Linked DNA regions of Homo sapiens: all the other regions are linked to region 7. The links are contacts of gene promoters, found by promoter capture Hi-C in blood cells and fetal thymus (Javierre and others, 2016). All regions are on one chromosome and are shown on one strand. The core of a region is centred on a gene start or on the middle of the fragment in contact, and the rest is flanking DNA. Distances in the headings are between cores, read along the strand shown.

The links. The method cuts DNA at HindIII sites, captures the fragments that hold promoters and counts their contacts. A CHiCAGO score of 5 or more calls a contact.
Region 1: a contact is called between a fragment that was not itself captured here and the fragment with the promoter of KATNAL1 in region 7, in 5 of 17 cell types (neutrophils, naive B cells, total CD8 T cells and 2 more). The highest score is 8.9, in neutrophils.
Region 2: a contact is called between a fragment that was not itself captured here and the fragment with the promoter of KATNAL1 in region 7, in 1 of 17 cell types (fetal thymus). The highest score is 6.1, in fetal thymus.
Region 3: a fragment that was not itself captured here is called in contact with the fragment with the promoter of KATNAL1 in region 7 in 2 of 17 cell types (neutrophils and naive B cells); the score reaches 6.7 in neutrophils.
Region 4: a fragment that was not itself captured here is called in contact with the fragment with the promoter of KATNAL1 in region 7 in 1 of 17 cell types (naive CD4 T cells); the score reaches 5.8 in naive CD4 T cells.
Region 5: a contact is called between a fragment that was not itself captured here and the fragment with the promoter of KATNAL1 in region 7, in 4 of 17 cell types (neutrophils, monocytes, total B cells and 1 more). The highest score is 11.9, in neutrophils.
Region 6: a contact is called between a fragment that was not itself captured here and the fragment with the promoter of KATNAL1 in region 7, in 8 of 17 cell types (neutrophils, naive B cells, total B cells and 5 more). The highest score is 12.8, in neutrophils.

Annotation. Positions count from the first base shown.
Region 1 is chr13:30,746,591-30,749,320 of GRCh38, forward strand. All of the region lies in intron 2 of ALOX5AP (arachidonate 5-lipoxygenase activating protein), which reads left to right. The region is part of intron 1 of LOC124903146 (a long non-coding RNA gene); the gene reads right to left. Among named protein-coding and RNA genes, the nearest start is that of ALOX5AP, 12 kb to the left of the region's middle. The HindIII fragment of the contact is 2,227 bases long and covers 166-2,392 here.
Region 2 is chr13:29,853,433-29,856,132 of GRCh38, forward strand. No RefSeq gene overlaps it. Among named protein-coding and RNA genes, the nearest start is that of UBL3, 4.2 kb to the left of the region's middle. The HindIII fragment of the contact is 3,516 bases long and covers 1-2,700 here.
Region 3 is chr13:30,817,283-30,820,015 of GRCh38, forward strand. No RefSeq gene overlaps it. Among named protein-coding and RNA genes, the nearest start is that of LINC00398, 15 kb to the left of the region's middle. The HindIII fragment of the contact is 7,684 bases long and covers 1-2,733 here.
Region 4 is chr13:29,830,257-29,832,956 of GRCh38, forward strand. All of the region lies in intron 1 of UBL3 (ubiquitin like 3), which reads right to left. Among named protein-coding and RNA genes, the nearest start is that of UBL3, 19 kb to the right of the region's middle. The HindIII fragment of the contact is 151 bases long and covers 1,367-1,517 here.
Region 5 is chr13:30,780,330-30,783,060 of GRCh38, forward strand. No RefSeq gene overlaps it. Among named protein-coding and RNA genes, the nearest start is that of LINC00398, 22 kb to the right of the region's middle. The HindIII fragment of the contact is 5,080 bases long and covers 1-2,731 here.
Region 6 is chr13:30,796,925-30,799,624 of GRCh38, forward strand. No RefSeq gene overlaps it. Among named protein-coding and RNA genes, the nearest start is that of LINC00398, 4.9 kb to the right of the region's middle. RefSeq lists an enhancer at 1,680-2,700. The HindIII fragment of the contact is 3,010 bases long and covers 1-2,700 here.
Region 7 is chr13:30,306,153-30,308,872 of GRCh38, forward strand. It overlaps KATNAL1 (katanin catalytic subunit A1 like 1), which reads right to left and starts at 1,399. Exons shown (of 11, transcript NM_032116.5): 1 at 1,179-1,399. RefSeq lists silencers at 1,034-1,143, 1,174-1,403. The HindIII fragment of the contact is 2,852 bases long and covers 1-2,089 here.

The sequences.
Region 1 (2,730 bases), core at 29-2,528, 440 kb after region 7:
AAACCACTGGGAATGGGGTTGTGTGTTATTCTAGGAGAAAGTCGTCCCAGCAGCAGCTTCTCCAGGGGCATCCAAGAGCACTGAAAAGGGTTGCAAGATGACCCATGAGGCTGCAGGAAGAAAAGAACATGCATTTAATCTTGCTATCTGAAAAGTAAGACATGAAGCTTTCCTCATTTTTAATATACACATGGACAGTAGTATGTGTATATAGTTTATATGCAAATATACTTGTTATAAGGTTGCATGCTCAAAATTTTTGGTTCATGGGGTGTGGGATCATAAATGTTTAGGGACCATGGCTATCAAGGAAAAACAGCATGAAGGATAAATGATACTGGTGGATTAAAAAGACAGATGCATGTATTTTTAGCATAAAACACAACTGCTGACTGATACAGATAGCTCAAGATTCTGGGGCAGCTGCTGAACAGATACACTAGCCAGTGTGGCTCATCGGCTCAGACTTGGCCTTAATTAATGGGCTGTCCCTCCACCCATCTCCCATGAGGGCAGAGCTGAGCCAGGGTTTGAGAGCTAAAAGGAATTGGACCTGGACTCTGTTCACGTGTATATTTTAATTCTAATTAATTCATTCTTTTGAAAGACAGAGTCACACTCTGTTGCCTAGGCTGGAGTGCAGTGGCACGATCTTGGCTCACTGCAACCTCGGCCTCCCAGGTTCAAGTTATTCTCCTGCTTCAGCCTCCTGAGTAGCTGGGATTATAGGCACATGCCCCCATGCCTGACTAATTTTTGTATTTTTAGTAGAGACGGGGTTTCACCATGTCAGGCTGGTCTTGAACTCCTGACCTCAGGTTATCCACCCGCCTTGGCCCCTCAAAGTGTTGGAATTACAGGTGTGAGCCACCGTGCCTGGCCTGTTCACATGTATAAAACACAGTTTAATGTCCTATTCCCAGCCAATGAGCATGGCTAGAGCAGCCTTGGTCAAAGTTTGGTTTTTGGAGAAAAATCCTTGTTAGCTGACCTAAGATTCCTCTTTGTGAGTGTAAGTAAGCACAGGTTGCAGAGAGGAGAAGGGTCTCTGGAGAGGTGTAATTTTCTAAATGGATTACAAGTTCATGGACTTTTAACAGGTGTTACAGGGGATAACAAGTTCTTTATAGACAGACTTTTGAGGACGTTTAAGGGTATTCTGATTCTTGGTTTTCTAAGAGGGGAATGTATTATTTAACTACAGACACCCCTACCGCCCACTTTTTGCAGAGTGTATCAAAACATGTTTTTGGAATACCACCCTCATGTCGCTTCTCCCTGCATCTCTTATCTCTTGGTGTCCATTCTAGACTCACTTTCTTTCTGTTTTTTATTTTTATTTTTTTTTGAGATGGAGCTTCACTCTGTCACCAGGCTGGAGTGCAGTGGTGCAATCTTGGCTGACTGCAACCTCTGCCTTCCGGGCTTAAGCAATTTTTGTGCCTCAGCCTCCTGAGTAGCTGGGATTACAGCATGCACCACCATGTCCGGCTAATTTTTGTATCTTTAGTAGAGACAGGGTTTCACTATGCTGGCCAGCCTGGTCTCAAACTCCTTACCTCAGGTGATCTGCCCGCCTCGGCCTCCCAGAGTGCTCAGATTACAGACGTGAGCCACTGGTGCCTGGCCTAGACTCACTTTCAAGTGGCATAGACTTGTAAAATTATTTAAAGGTGATAGGTCTACAATGATCCTGTCAATTAGTATTGACACTATTATTAATAAACTGTTATTAATTATATTTACTTACTTTAAATTAATCCAAACTAATTAACGGAACACTAAAGAGTTTCTATGTTTTATTCCCAGAGGTGGAGAAAAATGAAAGGGAATATAGCAACGAATTCTTTTCTCCATAAAAACATGAATAGTGCAGCACATCAAGTTGAACATACCACAGCAAATTGTTGCAAGATCTGCTGAGTAGCTCCTATTTAGACCTCAAGGAATGAGACTCAAAATGGGTTCATCAGTTCTGTTTTGCAGAAAAAATAGCGCAAAATTTCTCAAAAGAAAATCCAGAATAATAATAATTTGTCAATAGGAAAGACATTTCCACTGGGGGTTAAGAAGGAAGACATTGGAACAATGATAGCCACCACTTATTGAATGCTTACTGTGAGCCAGGTGGCACTTCACCTTGTTTCATTCTCACAACAGTCTAGGGAAGTAATTACTAATGTCTCCATCCACCTCTTGTAGATGAGCAAACTGAGGCTCATTGAGGCTAGGAAATGCACCCACACTCACATAGCCCATAAGAGGCAGCCATGGCATTGGGCCCAGACCATGTGAACTTCAAAGACTACACGAGCAGCCACTGGGCAGCTGTCATGGCTAAAGCCACTTGAATTCAGCCCAGCAGCAACCCCCTCTCCAGGAGGGGCACATAAGCTTGCAGCTTTGGGTAGAAGCTGCACTTGAAGTCCTGGATGGCGAGAGGGACTGGCTTGAGCCAGAGCCAGGAACAAGGCTCTGAGAATATTCTGGAAATCCACAGGAGGAACCCATTTTCTTACAGCTGGGAGAATTTCATTCAACTCCAGGCTGACCATGTTTTATTAGGAACGAAGGTGACTTGAACTAATAGTCAGGAATGGTTGAATACGGACCCAATGTCAAATCACTAGGCAGTTCACATTTCTAATGAGCAAATCCCTTAGACAATTAAGAATTTTTTTCCTTTTGCATAACCCAGACAAAATCGCTACTTAAAAACAAACCAAAGAC
Region 2 (2,700 bases), core at 29-2,528, 450 kb before region 7:
CTTCATATGAATAGAATCATATGGTATTTGTCTTTTTGTGGCTAGCTTATTTCACTTAGAAAAATGTCTTCAAGATTTATCCATATTATAACATGTCAGGATTTCCTTCCCTTGTATGGCTGATTAATTTTCCATTGTATGTATATACCACATTTTATGTATTCATTTATCCATGGATAGACACGTCAATTGTTTCTACCATAGAGCTATTGAGAAATGAGTGGATTTTATAATATGTAAACTATATCTCATACATTTGTTAACAAATATATCTCCCCCATCTACCATGTAAGTGTCTAAAATGGCTCCCATCTTAAGATCATTCCTGAAGGATCTTCTCAAGGAACCTCATGAAGTTAAAATAACTAAATGGAAGAATTACTTTCTGTGAAACCAGTAAACTTTTATCATGTGGTTCTTTAGTTGATTATCTCATGATGCCATGCTCTGTCATTTACAAAGGATCAGAGAGTAGGAAAATGCCATAAGAAGCAGAGACAGCCTTTGCCATCTCCATTCAGTTTTGCTCAAGGCTGGCCTGATCTGCAGGTACCCAGACCCCCAGACACAGTGTGGAGTTTCCTATCAAAGGGCAGCTGGAACCCTATGTGTTCTGGTCATGGCCCAGGGGCAGGGGCCCAGTGTGAGGGCAATCACAACTCTACCCATGCCTAAGGTTCTGCTTTAAGTCTTTTATTTGATTCTAGCCAATGTAAGAGTCACTTCAAAGACTTAGTAAAATTATTCTGTACTTCCCATGAGAAAACTATGTGAAAACCTCTAACATAGAAGGGGTCTCAAGAAATGTTGATTCTGCCACGTGCAGCGGCTCATGCCTGTAATCCCAGCCCTTTGGGAGGCCAAGGCGGGTAGATCACCTGAGATCAGGAGTTTGAGACCAGCCTGGCCAACACAGCGAAACCCTGTCTCTACTAAAAATACAAAAAAAATTAGCTGGGAGTGGTGGCAGACGCCTGTAATCCCAGCTACTCAGGAGGCTGAGGCGGGAGAATCACTTGAACCTGGGAGGCAGAGGTTGCAGTGAGCCGAGATCACGCCACTGGACTCCAGCCCGGGCAACAAGAGCAAAACTCCGTCTCCAGAAAAAAAGAAAAAAAGAAATGTTGATTCCCTACCACAAGTGGCCAAGGGCTTTCCTCTGAAACTAGAGATAATTTACTGAATGGTTTTGTAATAGATTTTCCTCCCTTAGTCTTTACTCTTGCTGGAGCAGAATGAATGTGTGTTTAGATTTGAGAATTGTCCTCTGAAGCAGTTTGCAATATAAAGAATAAAATTCAATCGTGTAAAGCAAAGGAATAGATAGGACAGGCTGGGTGACCTCTTTTTACTCCCATACACATATGGCAGATACCTCCAGCTCTTTAACCCCACACTTTCCTAAACAGAGATTCTCAACTTGCTTCCTATAAGAATCACTGGAATTCCACATATAAGTGAAATCATGCGGTATTTATCTTTCTGTGCCTGGCTTATTTCACTTAACATAATGGCCTCCAGTTTCATCCATACTATTGCAAATGACAGGATTTCTTCCTTTTTATGGTTGAATAGTATTCCATTGTGTTTATATACCACATTTTCTTTATCCATTCATCTGTTCATAGACACTTAGGCTGATTCCATATCTTAAGCATGATGGTTACCAGAAGTTGAGGGAGTGGGAGTGGGGAGGAATGGCGAGTTGTCAATCAAAGGGTACAAAATTCCAGTTAGACAGGAGGAGTAAGTTTTGAGAACTGTTGCATAGCAGAAGGACTATAGTCAACAATAATGTAGGTGTATGTCTCAAAATCATTGAGTAAGTTTCAGATGTCTCACCACAAAAAATGATGAGGAAGGTTATGTAAAGGAAGTGATAGTTAACGCTCATCAGCTTGATGTAATCATTCCGGGTTGCATAGACATATCAAAGCATCACAGCGTACCCCATGAATGTATACATCATGATTTGTCAAATTAAAATATTAAAGAAAAAAAGAATCGCTGGGAGTCATTTAAAAAGGCAAATACCTGAGCCCTCCTCCAGACCAACCAAATCAGACTGTTCAGGGTGGGGCCTGACACTGGTATGTTCCAAATCTCTAAAGCAATTCTAATGTGCAGTGGAGAAACACTGCATATGCCAGATTCCTTCTGCCCAGCTCCCCACCTTTTCCCAGTTAGTTTCTCTTATGAGAGTGCTCACCTGAAGGTAATGTGATTTATAAAGGTGACCCATGGCCACAGTCGTGAGTGGTCTGAGGAACAATCATAGCACACTGCTCTCTCCTCCCACTCCCTATGCCATTGTATTCATGCACCAACCTAATAACTAAGAGATTGACCTTTCCCTGATGCAGCCCTAGTTTCCGTCTCAAGACGCTTCCCACTTTGCTCAGAGTCCAGTAAGAAACACAGACAAGTAAGGTGAAAATTAAAATGCCATATGGTGAGTTGCTAAATGCTACCACAGGAATATGCACTAGGCACTTTGAAAGCACAGAGGAAATAAAGCAAACTCAGCCTTGAGGCGTGTGGAGTTTAACCAGGTGAAAGCCAAGTGAACAGGCAGGGTAATCAGGAAGAAAACACATGGACCTAGACTCAGGGCAGAGTGAGGCAGAGAAGGGAAGTGGCTAAAGCTCAGATGGCTACTTCTGGGAATCGAGGCAGGACTGGGGTCAGAGAAGGTTAGGA
Region 3 (2,733 bases), core at 35-2,534, 510 kb after region 7:
TTATATGCCAGAATGCCTCTGACATACGGCAGAAATGGCCTTTTCTTCACATCTTGTCATCCCCCAGTCTGGTGCAACACGCTATAGACCACCGACATTTACAAGTGACTGGTGCACTAGGAAATTCTGAATGCTTGCCTACCAGTTAAGGCAACATAAAAATACGCAGATTAGTGATTTGATTATTAGGGCCCGTATCTGAAAACAGAGAGGAAGAAAGAAATGCGCTCAAGAATCCGAATTTGCATTTGTTTACTACAACAAAAAGTGGGCTGATGAGTTCATGGACTGATAATTACACTACACCTTGATCAACATGTTCTCAGTGGGCAACAACAAAAAAAACAAAGATCTTTGTCCCAGGATCCCATATATCCTGGGCTTGGCTGATAGGGGTTAATCAAATTAGTGAGCAAGATATATGAGCAGAGAGACCTGAGTGAGCATCTTTGATTCTGTACAAGTGAACCATGAAAAGAAAACTTCTGGGACCCATTCCGTCTCAATCTCATTAGGAACTAAGCCTGTCCCCCAGGGGCTGTCTCAGCCTGACCATGCCAATTGGTCCACGGAGGAGTGTGCGTAGTTAGGCACATGCAGGCAGACTTGACTCAAACTTTGTGATAAACGACTTTTTTTTTTTTTTTTGAGACAGAGTATCGCTCTGTCGCCCAGGCTGGAGTGCAGTGGTGTGATCTTGGCTCACTGCAACCTCTGCCTCTTGGGTTCAAGCAATTCTCTGCCTCTTGGGTTCAAGCAATTCTCTGCCTCAGCCTCCCAAGTAGCTGGGATTACAGGCACCTGCCACCACCCCCAGCTAATTTTTGTATTTTTACTAGAGGCGGGGTTTCACCATCTTGGCCAGGCTGGTCTTAAACTCCTGACTTTGTGATCCACCCGCCTCAGCCTCCCAAAGTGCTGGGACTACAGGTGTGAGGCACGCACCCGGCCTGTGATAAATGACTTTATAAACACCAGAATCCTGTGTTATTTGATGGTCTGTCCTACTGAAGCCTTTTTCCTAAGGTTTCTCATGTGTAGAGCAAAGCCTTTTTATTTTTAGCTGTTACGGTCATAGACGGGTTGCACAGCAGTGAATGGGTTTGGACCTGAAATGCAGGAGCTTGATGTGAAGTTCCATGACTCATATCAGCCCCACATTCCAGAGTCATTTTCCAGGAACCCGAGATTCATTCTGTTCTCTCCCTTGGCTCATCATTCATGCCCAGGACATTGACGACCATCTAGATGGTGATGAATTCCAAGTTCATGTCTCCAGCCCACATCTCTCCTCTGCATATCTCCAAAGGTCTGCTCAGCCTCACCACTCAGATATTTCACCACATCCACCCCTCCAGCCTGGCCCACTCCTGGTGAATGGCACGGCACTCACTAAGTTATGCAAGTCGGACGTGTTGGAGTCCTCATTGACGCACCCGCCCCCTCAGAAATCCTCTCCTCAGAAATCTCTCCTCTCTCAAGTGCCTGTTTCTTTCACCTCCTCTGTAATTCTCACTTCCACCCCTTATTTCCAGCTGTTCCTACACTCTGTTTCCTGGCCTCAGACCCCAGCCTTGCATGCCTAAGCCAGCTTCATATTTGGTCCTCCTCTATTCAATCTACTCACCCAAACACTTTTCTATATGTAAATCTGATTGCGTCTCACCTTGTTAAAACCTATGGGTCCCAGTCTCCTTTAAGATAAAGACTGCATTCCTAAGGGTGCTCCCAAGGCTCCACCACATCGGGCCCCTGTCTGTACCTATCCTGGCTCCTCGTGCTCAGGTGCCCTTGTCCCCTTTGCATAGCATGTCCAAGTACTATGTCCCCACCCACCAGCTTCTGGCACCTGCCGCTCCCTGTGCCATCCCTGCCTCACTCCTCCTTCCTGTCTCAGGCATCTCCCTCTTTTGGTCACAGCTGCCCTGACCCTCAGCCTAGGCTGGGTGTCTGGCCACCTGCTCTTGAAGAGCCACTTCTTCCATGCTAAATCTCAGCCCCGCTTGGGATTATTTATTTGTTGGTGTCATTACTCAGACTTCTTGCGTCTCCCTGACTAGACTGGGCCTTCATGTGACCAGGGGCTGTGTCTGGTTTTGCCACTGTTGTACTCCCAGTCACATCCATGGTGCCTGGCATGACATGCCTGCATAATACGTACTCAGTAAGTGAATGAACCAACTGACTCACCTACAGAAAGGACCTTTGATGTCTCTCCCAACTCATCAGAATAATCCAAAATAGTCAGCTTTGAAGAAAAAAGGAGTATTTATTTGATACCACAAAGAATTCTAACAGAAAAGAATGCTCCAAATCTTCTAAGGCACATGTAATAGGAAGGCAGGTCTGGAGTGAATAGCTTGTCAAGTTAATGATTAGTTTGGTGTTTCTTTTGCTGTAGGATTATGACAAATGTAACAAGACTGTAGATATAATTGGCCCTGGTGCTTTGGCCTTACGTTTTACACTTATCAGTTTTCACGGAAGTAAATCTTGAATCCTACAGCTCTCATCAAATTGGATGCTGAAAGTGCAGTGACATCATAGCAATAATGATGTGGAGTATTTATGACCGAGCTTTTTGGTGAATGTGCTTGTAATGCATCTTCTGTTTAGTGTTACTAGAACACCAGCATAATTATTGGGCTGGTTATTTGTTAAAACGATTTAGACAAAAAGTTTAGGAGAAAATTAGGTGCCATCGAATGATAATCTGCCCCTAGCAGAGGATGA
Region 4 (2,700 bases), core at 192-2,691, 480 kb before region 7:
ATGACTCATGTGTTGCCATAATTTGAAAAGCAAAAATATAATAACAGGCTTACATCTGCAATCTGCAGTACATACAACTTATCAATGAACCCAGAATAAAGGTATTTAGGGAAAAAGTTTTCCCAGCTTTTGATTTTTCTTGGCTGCCTGTTCGAAGTCCCAAAGGAGTAAGGTAGACAGTACTTTGGGGAATGAAAAAGCCATTTGCTTCCCTCCTATGACAGCTGGGAATCTAATTTCCCAATTTTTTAGTAAAACTCCTTCTCTGGGTACAAAGAATTTAACAAGAAACAACATCTCTTCGCAATCTCTGCATCAAAGCATGAACTAGATGACTGCTACTGAACCAACAGCCCTACTATTCTGTAATAGAAATATTCACCTTTGTAAGATTAAAAAGGAATAATTTCAGAGCAAAAAGCAAGTACTATTAATGCCTGTCCTGATTATATGCAGTAGCAAAGCAAAGGTATTTTGACAATTAGAAAGTGTTTGGAAAATATAGATACAGGCACAAGAATGGAAAAAATGACTTTCAAAAAAATGCACATACTGAATCCTTCTATGCCTAGCATATCAGTATGGAAGAAAACTACAAGAATTATATTAAAAACACTCTTGACCACATTGAAATACTTGATAATATATTGAGACCCATATAGCTTTCACCAAATTATACAATATTCCTCACCTCCTTGCTGTATCTGCTGTTGTTGACAAATCTGCCTCCTTGAGTTTCTCCCTATATGCCTTAAATGACAATCCAGCATTTTTTTTTTCTTTTTTCCTATAACTCTGTTCCTTTTCTCACGTTCATAATTCCCTTTTTCCCAAATAGAGGGGTTGTGCCTTCAGGGTATCCTCCCTCCCTCCCTTGGTGACTCATCTAATCTCATATTGATATTTTTTCAACTGAATGCTCACAAAAATTTATACTTTTTAGACTTCTCTTCTTTCCTGATGAGTAATTTCACACTCTTACAGAAGTTAAGGAGAGGTAAAATGACTCACAGATTCCTATACTACTTGCTCTTTTAAAAAAGATAATTCTTGCTGGGCGCGGTGGCTCACGCCTGTAATCCCAGCACTTTGGGAGGCCGAGGTGGGTGGATCACCTGAGGTCAGGAGTTCAAGACCAGCCTGACCAACATGGAGAAAACCCGTCTCTACTAAAAATACAAAATTAGCCGGGGTGGTAGTGCATGCCTGTAATCCCAGCTATTCGGGAGGCTGAGGCAGGAGAATCGCTTGAACCAGGGAGACGGAGGTTGCGGTGAGCCAAGATCGCGTCATTGTACTCCAGCCTGGGCAACAAGAGCAAAACTCCGTCTCAAAAGAAAAAAAAAAAAAAAAAGATAATTCTACAAGCTTGATTATATGTCTTTCTATATGATAGTTGACTAAAATCAGAAAAGTTAAAAGAAAGGCTGATGACAGCTTACTTAATGATAGAAAAAAAAAGAACGCTGACATTAAGAGAAGAAAAAAACTAAAAAATCACAAAAAGTAAAACAAAAAGCTTAGCAGTCTGGGACCACTTGGAATACAAGTCAAAAACAAACAAACAAAAAAACAAAAAAAGTCAAAGATCTTTTTAGTCCACTGAAAGTATTATATAAACCATACAAGTGCACTGTCCAATAATAGTAGCCACTAGATACACATAGATATTTTCATTAAAATTAAACATAAGTAAAAATTCGCTTCCTCAAACACTAGCCATGAAGAAAGTGCCCAATAGACACAAGTAGCCCAGCACGTGGCTACCTTACTAGACGACACAATAAAGAACATTTCCATGATTGTGCTAAGTTCTATCAGACACCTGCAGTGCTAATTCAACATTCATTGAGTTTTCCTTATTTAGTAGGCACTGTGCTAGACACAGCAGTTTAGAAAGATGAGGCCTCTCTGCCCTCAGAGTAAGTACATAGTCTGTTTAGTGGGAGAAACACATAAAAACACTTACAATTGCTAGAGTACAGGTAATGAAATTTATGAAAGAGCAACTAATTCTGTGGCCTAGCTCTGAATTTCAGACCAATTAGCTAAGATTCCAATCCTTTTACCTAATTTCTTTTTTTTTTTTTTTTTAAGACGGAGTCTCGCTCTTTCGCCCAGGCCAGACTGCAGTGGCGCTATCTCGGCTCACTGCAAGCTCCGCCTCCCGGGTTCACGCCATTCTCCTGCGTCAGCCTCCCGAGTAGCTGGGACTACAGGACCCCACCACCGCGCCCGGCTAATTTTTTGTATTTTTAGTAGAGACGGGGCCTAATTTCTATAATTTACCTTCTCTGTAGACTTAGCCTTGTTCATCTAGCAGTAGACTGTATAACAAATAATGCTGAGACTCACTACTACTTAGAAATCCCCGGGCCATCAGAACCAGAAGTACTGATGCCTGCATAGTTAATTTAAGTTAGCACTGTTCCTCTGGAGTCTACGCTTTACATTGCTGGCAATCCGTGATGGAAGCAGCTATCCTGCCACTCTGGCTACTTTTCCTTGGTCCCTCCCAGAAGTCAGCTTTGTGCCAACTGTCATTTTTAATTTGGATTTCCCAGCATGTTCTATACTTACAGTGTCTAGCTGCCTGACAAAGTTATAAAACATTACCAAGGAATTAGCACTGCAGTTGAGGACAAGTTTCAGGTGCAAATGGAGCAAGATAAAGAGAAGTCAAGGTCCACTTTAAGCAGA
Region 5 (2,731 bases), core at 195-2,694, 470 kb after region 7:
AGAAAGCCTGGGAGCCCAGACAGAAAATTGACACAGGGGCAGAGCCACTACAGGGAGTGCCTACCAAGGTTGGTGGAGCTATAAAGGCAGGGCTGCCCTCAAGACCCCAGAATTGTAGAGCTACTAGCAGCATGTAGTGCCTGCCTGGGAAAGCTACAGGTGTCTGATTTCAAGCCCTGGAGCACCCACATGGGCTCTGCCCAGCAAAACCATGGGGATGGGGCTGCTCAAGGTCTTGGGAGCCTACCCCTTTCACCAGTGTGCCTAGGAGGCAGCACCTGGAGCTTTAAGATTTAATGTTCGGTCTACTGGGCTTTGAACTTGTGTGGGACTTGTCATTCTTTTAGTTTGTCTGATTTTTTCCCCTTTGGAATGGGAATGTTTATCTTGGAAGTAAAAAACTTGTTTTTGATTTTACAGGCTCAGAGTTGGAAGGAGCTTGCCTTGAGTCTCAGATGAGACTTTGGACTTTAGACATTCTAGTTGATGCCGGAACAAGTTAAGACTTTTGGAGACTATTGGGAAGGGATAATTGTATTTTACAATGAGGAGGGCATAAGTTTTGTGGGGCCAGAGGTGGAATAATATGGTTTGGATATGGTTTGTTTATCCCCACCAGATCTCATATTGAAATTTGATCTCCACTGTGGCTGTGTTGGGAGTTGGGGTCTGGTGGGAGGTGTTTGGGTCATGGGAGGTGGATCCCTCATGAATGGCTTAGTACTGTTCTCAAGGTAGTGATTGAATTCCCACTCTTGGATTAGTTCTCTTGGGAATAGATTGTTTCCCTTTGAGGGTGGGTTGTTACAAAGTGAGGACACCTCTAAGTTTTGCCCCTTTCCTTTGACCTTCCACTGTTTCATGAGGAGCAGATGTTAGCACCATGCTCCTTGAACTTCCCAGCCTGTAGAACCATGAGCTATATAAATCTCTCTTTTTTTTTTTTTTCATTTTAAGTTCTTTTTTTTTTAATTATACTTTAAGTTTTAGGGTACATGTGCACAATGTGCAGGTTAATTACATATGTATACATGTGCCATGCTGGTGTGCTGCACCCATTAACTCATCATTTAGCGTTAGGTATATCTCCTAATGCTATCCCTCCCCCTTCCCCCCATCCCACAACAGTCCCCAGAGTGTGATGTTCCCCTTCCTGTGTCCATGTGTTCTCATTGTTCATTTCCCACCTATGAGTGAGAACATGCAGTGTTTGGTTTTTTGTCCCTGTGATAGTTTACTGAGAATGATGATTTCCAATTTCATCCATGTCCCTACAAAGGACATGAACTCATCATTTTTTATGGCTGCATAGTATTCCATAGTGTATATGTGCCACATTTTCTTAATCCAGTCTATCATTGTTGGACATTTGGATTGGTTCCAAGTCTTTGCTATTGTGAATAGTGCCGCAGTAAACATACGTGTACATGTGTCTTTATAGCAGCATGATTTATAGTCCTTTGGGTATATACCCAGTAATGGGATGGCTGGGTCAAATGGTATTTCTAGTTCTAGATCCCTGAGGAATCGCCACACTGTCTTCCACAATGGTTGAACTAGTTTACAGTCCCACCAACAGTGTAAAAGTGTTCCTGTTTCTCCACATCCTCTCCAGCACCTGTTCTTTCCTGACTTTTTAATTATTGTCATTCTAACTGGTGTGAGATGGTATCTCATTGTGGTTTTGATTTGCATTTCTCTGATGGCCAGTGATGGTGAGCATTTTTTCCTGTGTTTTTTGGCTGCATAAGTGTCTTCTTTTGAGAAGTGTCTGTTCATGTCCTTCGCCCACTTTTTGATGGGGTTGTTTGTTTTTTTCTTGTAAATTTGTTTGAGTTCATTGTAGATTCCGGATATTAGCCCTTTGTCAGATGAGTAGGTTGAGAAAATTTTCTCCCATTTTGTAGGTTGCCTTTTCACTCTGATGGTAGTTTCTTTTGCTGTGCAGAAGCTCCTTAGTTTAATTAGATCCCATTTGTCAATTTTGGCTTTTGTTGCCCCTGCTTTTGGTGTTTTAGACATGAAGTCCTTGCCCATGCCTATGTCCTGAATGGTAATGCCTAGGTTTTCTTCTAGGGTTTTTATTGTTTTAGGTCTAATAAATCTCTTTTTTAAGAAATAAATTTATAAATAGAATACCCAGCTTCAGGTATTCTGTTATAGCAACACAAAATAGACTAAGACACTCTCCAACCTCCTAATTATGGAGAGCTCAGGCTTGCTGCACAAGTCTCTTGCACATCTCCAGATACCTGAGTGATCTTCCTCACATTTAATAATTTCTAAAATTTGTCTTCTCCAAAGGAGATCCCTTTCTTAACCTCCAGACTAAAATATCACATTGCCCTCATCCCTACTTAATGTGTCCAAAACAAAACCTCTGATTCTCCATCCACACAATCACTTTCTCCCTTAGTGGGCCCATCTCAGTAAGTGGTAACTCTGTTCTAATTGCTCAGGATGAAACCCTGGCATCAACATTGACTCCTCTTCTCTCATACTGCACATTCCATTCTTAGCAAATCCTGTCAGTTTTACCTTCGAAAAATTATTTTTAAGATCTGACCATTCTCACCACCCCCACTGCCCAATGCCATTCTAAACTTCCACCATCACTGCAGCATAAAGCTCCATGAGGGCAGAGGGCTTTGTCTGTTTTGCTCATTGCTATGTTCTCAGCTCTCAGCACATAGTAGGTGCTCAGTTGCTATTTAATAAGTAACCTCTCACC
Region 6 (2,700 bases), core at 87-2,586, 490 kb after region 7:
GTGGCTCCATGGCTCCCGGTGCATCCGGATCTGTGACAGTTACACAAGACGTGTGCTTAAATATTTACCATGCTCAGAGTCTCCCCAGCACGGTGGGGCTCAGAAGAAAATCCAAGAAGCAAGGCGGCTCTGGCATCATCCGCTCCTAGCTTGGTGGAGCATATGTCTTGATGGGAGGTATCGTCAACAGACTGGGCGACCTGTTGCTTTAAAAGATGAACAATAACGATCTCCTCTCAGACTCAGGAACAAATACTAGGCATATCAGATTGCTTGTGAGACTTAGGCAATTAGAATGGTTCTGTGATATCATTCCCCTGAGGGTCCAGGAACTCCCCTAAGTTCCCAGTGTGGGTGCACAGTGTGAAACGCTGGAGGAGGGGAGAAGCAGCAGACATGTTTCAGCACCACCTACGCGTCTGACATGAGCTTTTGTTATCTCATTCACGCTGCAGGAACATTGTCTCCATTATCATTATGATTGTTTCTACTTTACAGATAGGGAAACCAGCTCAGAGAAGGTGAGTAATGGACCCGAGGTCACACAGCTGTGAGACGCAGGGCCAGGATTTGGCTCCAGCTACTAGCCTGTAGCAGCATGGGCATGGCCCAGTGGAAAGACTAACACAAAGATGAACATCCCAGCACCCTTCCAAAAGGCTCTCCAAAGAGATGGGTCCCACAAAGGTGCAACAGTCTCCAAGATTCCCTGACCTCACTGTACAGCCAGAGGTTGGGAATTCCTTCCCTTAAGTCAGCCCTGATCCTGGTGCCCCCCTGTACATTTCTCCCACTGACAACTGCTCAGGGAGGTTCCTCGCCAGGGATGTAAACAGGACAGGGTCAGACCCCAAGTGCCAAGTAGGTAGCCAAGGGGGACAGAGGCCCTGTCTAGGGTACCTGAAACACACTATGGAGGGGCTGGTGGAGAGATTCTACTCTCCACTTGGATCTTACGCAGGAGCAAGGAGGTAAAAAGAGTGACCACACACACTAGATTTCACAGTCAGTAAGGACTGAAACCTCTGATCTGCTGACTGGCTTCACCAGGAGGGATATCCTGGGAGTCCCAGGCAGCCACTGGCAGCACCCCTGCTGTGGAACCCAGGATTCCTGCACCTGAAAGGGGAGTCTTCTGGGACCACTCCTGGAGCCCAGGAGGGCTGCACGTGTCAGGGGCCCACAGACAGGTGAAGAAACCCTTTAAGCCTCTTTCCTCGAGTGAAGGCCGACCTCCCCCACTCCCCGGCATTAGACATTCTGGTTTTGCAGGAGCTGCTGATGGTGGCGGTAGTAGGGGGAGAGTCTACATTTCGAATGAGCTTCCCTTCCTGGTGGTCTTGGTACAAGTCTGTGGGTGTATTTTGAAAACTGCTGCTTTCCCTCCAACACAGCTTCCCTTGCTGTCTCCTTGGACTGCAGCAGCGTTTCTTACAGCCACGTGGCATCTCAGGGAATTCTCTGGAAGATGAGGCTACACCGAAGTCAAGAGGCGTCTTTGCTGGGCTCACTGTTGAGCTGTGGAGGGCCTGTAAGGCCCCAGAGGAGGCCGTTCCTTGGACTCTGTGCAGGGAAACTTCTCTTGACTAGAAATACACCTGTCTTCTCCGCCCAAAGCCCAAAGTGGGTGGCCTGGGCTTGCAAAGAGACGAGCAGGCTCAGGGCAGGATGGCTCCCTGCAGCTCTATGGCCTCGAATGGGGTAAGGGACTCCCTGGAGGCCTGAGTAATTTGGGCACTGGGAAAACAGGGTCCTCTATTTCTAGTTTTCCTGTCCAGAGCACCCCAGGGCTGTGTGCCTGGCCTTGTGGGGGCCGTGACCCTGACCCTGGCTCTCCCTAAGGTGACCACTCACCCTAGAAACACCCTAGAAACTCACCCTAGAAGATTTGCTAAACAGCAACAGTTTAGCTAATCTTCACATCTTTGAAGGTACAAAAGTCCCATGTGGGGCCTCGGGTCAGAGAACTGCCACAAACAGCCCGTGAATTCATTAATCCTTCCCCAGCCTCTCGGTTTGGCTGCATTCCTTCATGTATCCATTCAACACATAGCACTGAGCATCTACTGTGTTTGGATTTTGGGGGAATCTTTGGGTAGCTTCAGCTACTAGGACAAAGAACACCGCCCCCTGAGATATACATGCCTGGACGATGAATCCTGTGCGTCTACACAACATTTCTGAATGTTCTGAAAAGGAAAAATAATAATAAACAAATGTGTGAGGTAGTGATTAAGATATTCACAATATTTCCCTTTAAAACAGGAAAGTCTGACAGCTAAAGAGGAGAAACGTCTTTGCTGTCCCCCCGACTCCCACTTCAATTTAGACTCCTGATTGCTTTCTTGATCTTTCAGGGTTATAACCGCGATCTCAATGACTAATAGAAAACTCCATTAGGCTCCGTCTTTATGAAGGGAATTAATGACTTCGTAAATTTAGTGCTTCGTAAACATAGGAGGGGGAGCACTTCCCTCAGGCTTGACGATTCCCTGGCAGGGAGGGAGGCTGGATAGGAAAGGAAACGCTTCCAGCCTGCTGAGAGGCCTCCTCACCCAAGCATTCTCTGCTGCTCCTTAGAAAGCCAGGCCCCACAAGGCTTAGGTGCGCCAAGATCCTGAAAAAGAAGTCAACGCGAAGGCACGAGAGCTGGGAGCCAGGGAGAAAGAGATGCGTCCGCCGACTTGAAAAAAAATACCA
Region 7 (2,720 bases), core at 149-2,648:
AATTTTAAAGGGTCGTCAAGGAAGGTTTCGTAAATCTGTGTCAGCTTCCTTTACCAGCAAGTCTTTGAGTCAACTCTAAGGACTCAAGTGTACTCCTGAACATAAAAAATATATAAAGAATTAACTAAATAATTAAAACATGGTATTTTTCCTTCCGAAAACATGCTGAGAAATTCTGAATAACACTGGAATAATCAAAGAATTATTGCTGCCTACTGCTAAAAAAGTCTGTTTTTAAAAGTTACTAGTAATTTAAAGCTGAACTAATCAAAATATGTGTAGGCAGTGTTCAGGCTGGCAAGGGGGGGGTGGGGTGGAGCACTCATTTCACAACCTTGAACCTCAAGAAATAAAATTCAAAAATGCAAAAAGTTAAAAATGCCAGATACCACCATATAATCGCAATGACATCTTTTTATCTATTTCCACACTTAACCTTTAAACATTACTGCCCTTTGAGTAATTACCAATTGATGGGTTTAATATGCAAACACCTCTGAGCTACTTTAAAACAAACATGACTAACCCAGAAATAAACGTATCCAGGAAAGGAGAAAAACCTGTTAAAACACGGTTTCTCAGGTCTCACATCCAATGTGTGACATACATACGGTTCTGCACCGAAAGGCAGCAACCTGCGAGGGTCAGAGGCGCCGAAGACCCGAGGCCCTGCAGCTTGGGCGGCTGCTCATCCCTGAGACTGTGCAGGGCGGTGGCCCAGCCGGGGTGGGGCTGAGCGCTGCAACTGGGGCGGGCCCAGCTACAGGGCGGGAAGCCCGAGGCTCACCTCCACTTCCCTTTCCCAACGCACAGAGCCCAGGTCCGCGACCACTCAACAGCCCCCTCAAGACAAAGAGAGATTTTTTTTTCTGTCCCGGTCCGCTCAAAGTTTATCGGTCTTTCCCGGCGGTCGGGGCCGCCGGGCTTTGTAGTTCGCCAGTCCGAGCTACCCCACCAAGACCGCGAGCCCGAGGAGTCGCTGAACTACAATTCCCATGATGCACCGCGAGCCTGGCGCTCCCGCGCCCCTCCCCGTCCCCGCACGGGAGCCAGCGCCCGAGGAACCCCGCAGCCCACTGCCCTGGCGTCTCCGGCAGTGGGAGGCCGAGAGGGGCTGTTGGCTAGAGCCCTCCACCACCTGCTGTCTCGCCCTCGCCCCTTTCTCTCGGATTCATTACCCAGAAGGCGCAGGTCCGGGCACATTCAGCGATGCGGTCCAGATGGGGTGCGGGTGGGGCGCAGGCCGCCGCCGCCGCCGCCGCCGAGTCCGTTAGCTCGCGACGTGCGTGAAAAGGCGGCGGCGGCGTAGTGTTGCCATGGCAGCCGCGGCCGCGCGGTGGGCGCAGCGCGGGAGGGAGCGCGGGGGCTGTGAGTCCGCTCTGGGGCGGAGCTTGGGACTCCCGCCCAGGTTGCCGGGGGGAGGGAGGTGCAGCGGCGCGGGGTGGGAGAGCAGGGAGACAGTGACATTGAGGAGGACGTGTGGCCGACTGAGCTCTGGTCGTGCTTGATGAGCCTGCCTCCACTGCGTCCAGCCCCCGTGGCAGGGCACCTTCGTGCCTGCTGCTTTCGGAGGTGATGCCAGTGGCGTCGAAGGAGGGGGCACCCGGGGCGTCGCAGCGCCTTTCCCGCCGCCTGTCCAGGCGTCCGCCGCTGGGTCTGCCCCCAAGGGATGTGTGGATCCTACGCCACCTCTGTGTTTTTCTCCAGTCAAACCGAATTGAAGTCTTTCGCACCCCCTTTCTCCATTCTCTGGGGAGGGGGATAGAAGGGAATCCTTCGATAAGATGGAATGCATATGGCCTTTAGGATTATTCAGGAGGTTTTAGAATTTGCAAATGGCATTGCTTTCGACTGAATTTGGATTTATGCTGTTTCTTGGCAATCGTTTGTGGACTCTAGGATAAACAGGTTAAGAGCGTGGGCTTCTAAAACGAATTCTTAGTTCACGTCCTGCCCCTGTGCTTGGTAGCTGATGACCAGAGGCGCCTTTCTCACCTCTTAACGTTTTGATCTGCAAAAATGGAGATATCCATCTTGCAACTCTTGTAAGAAATACACGCATTAATACTGATGAAGCTCTATAAAACAAAGCTTAGCATTTAACAATAGCTATTAAATATTAATTATTTAATCAATAGTGATAAAAGTCAGAATAGTGGTTGGCTGTCGGGGAGGAGTTTGAGAGAATTTTTTGTAGTGATGAAAAAATTCTATAGCTAAGAGTTTCGGTTACAGAAGTATATGCACTTGTCAAAACTCTTGGAATGGGACATTTAAGATTTGTACATTTCACTGCATGTAAATTTACCTCAAAAGAGAACATAAAAATGTGTTGTTATTATTATTAGAGCTATAGACTCTAATGGAAACTACAGAGATATTCTAGGCCCAATCTCTAGATTTTATAGATGGGAAAACTGAGGCCCAGAAATTTAATAGAAAAAAAGAGGAAGGGGAGTGAATTCGTGACCTTGTCATTTTCTAGTAATGAATATCTCCTGAAAAATTATGGTTGAAAATAACAAAAATGGCTCCTGTAATCCAGCTGAGTCATCCTACCACAGAGATTTTCTTGAACTTGACTGAGTCCCTTATCCACCTTGTGGTGTTCCCCACGGCCAATGTCCTCTCAAGGATTGCACCGTCACTTCTGGCTCTCAGTTCTTGCTTTTCCTGAACACTTAGACCTCTCCACATATCACCTCTTACAACTCTCCTCT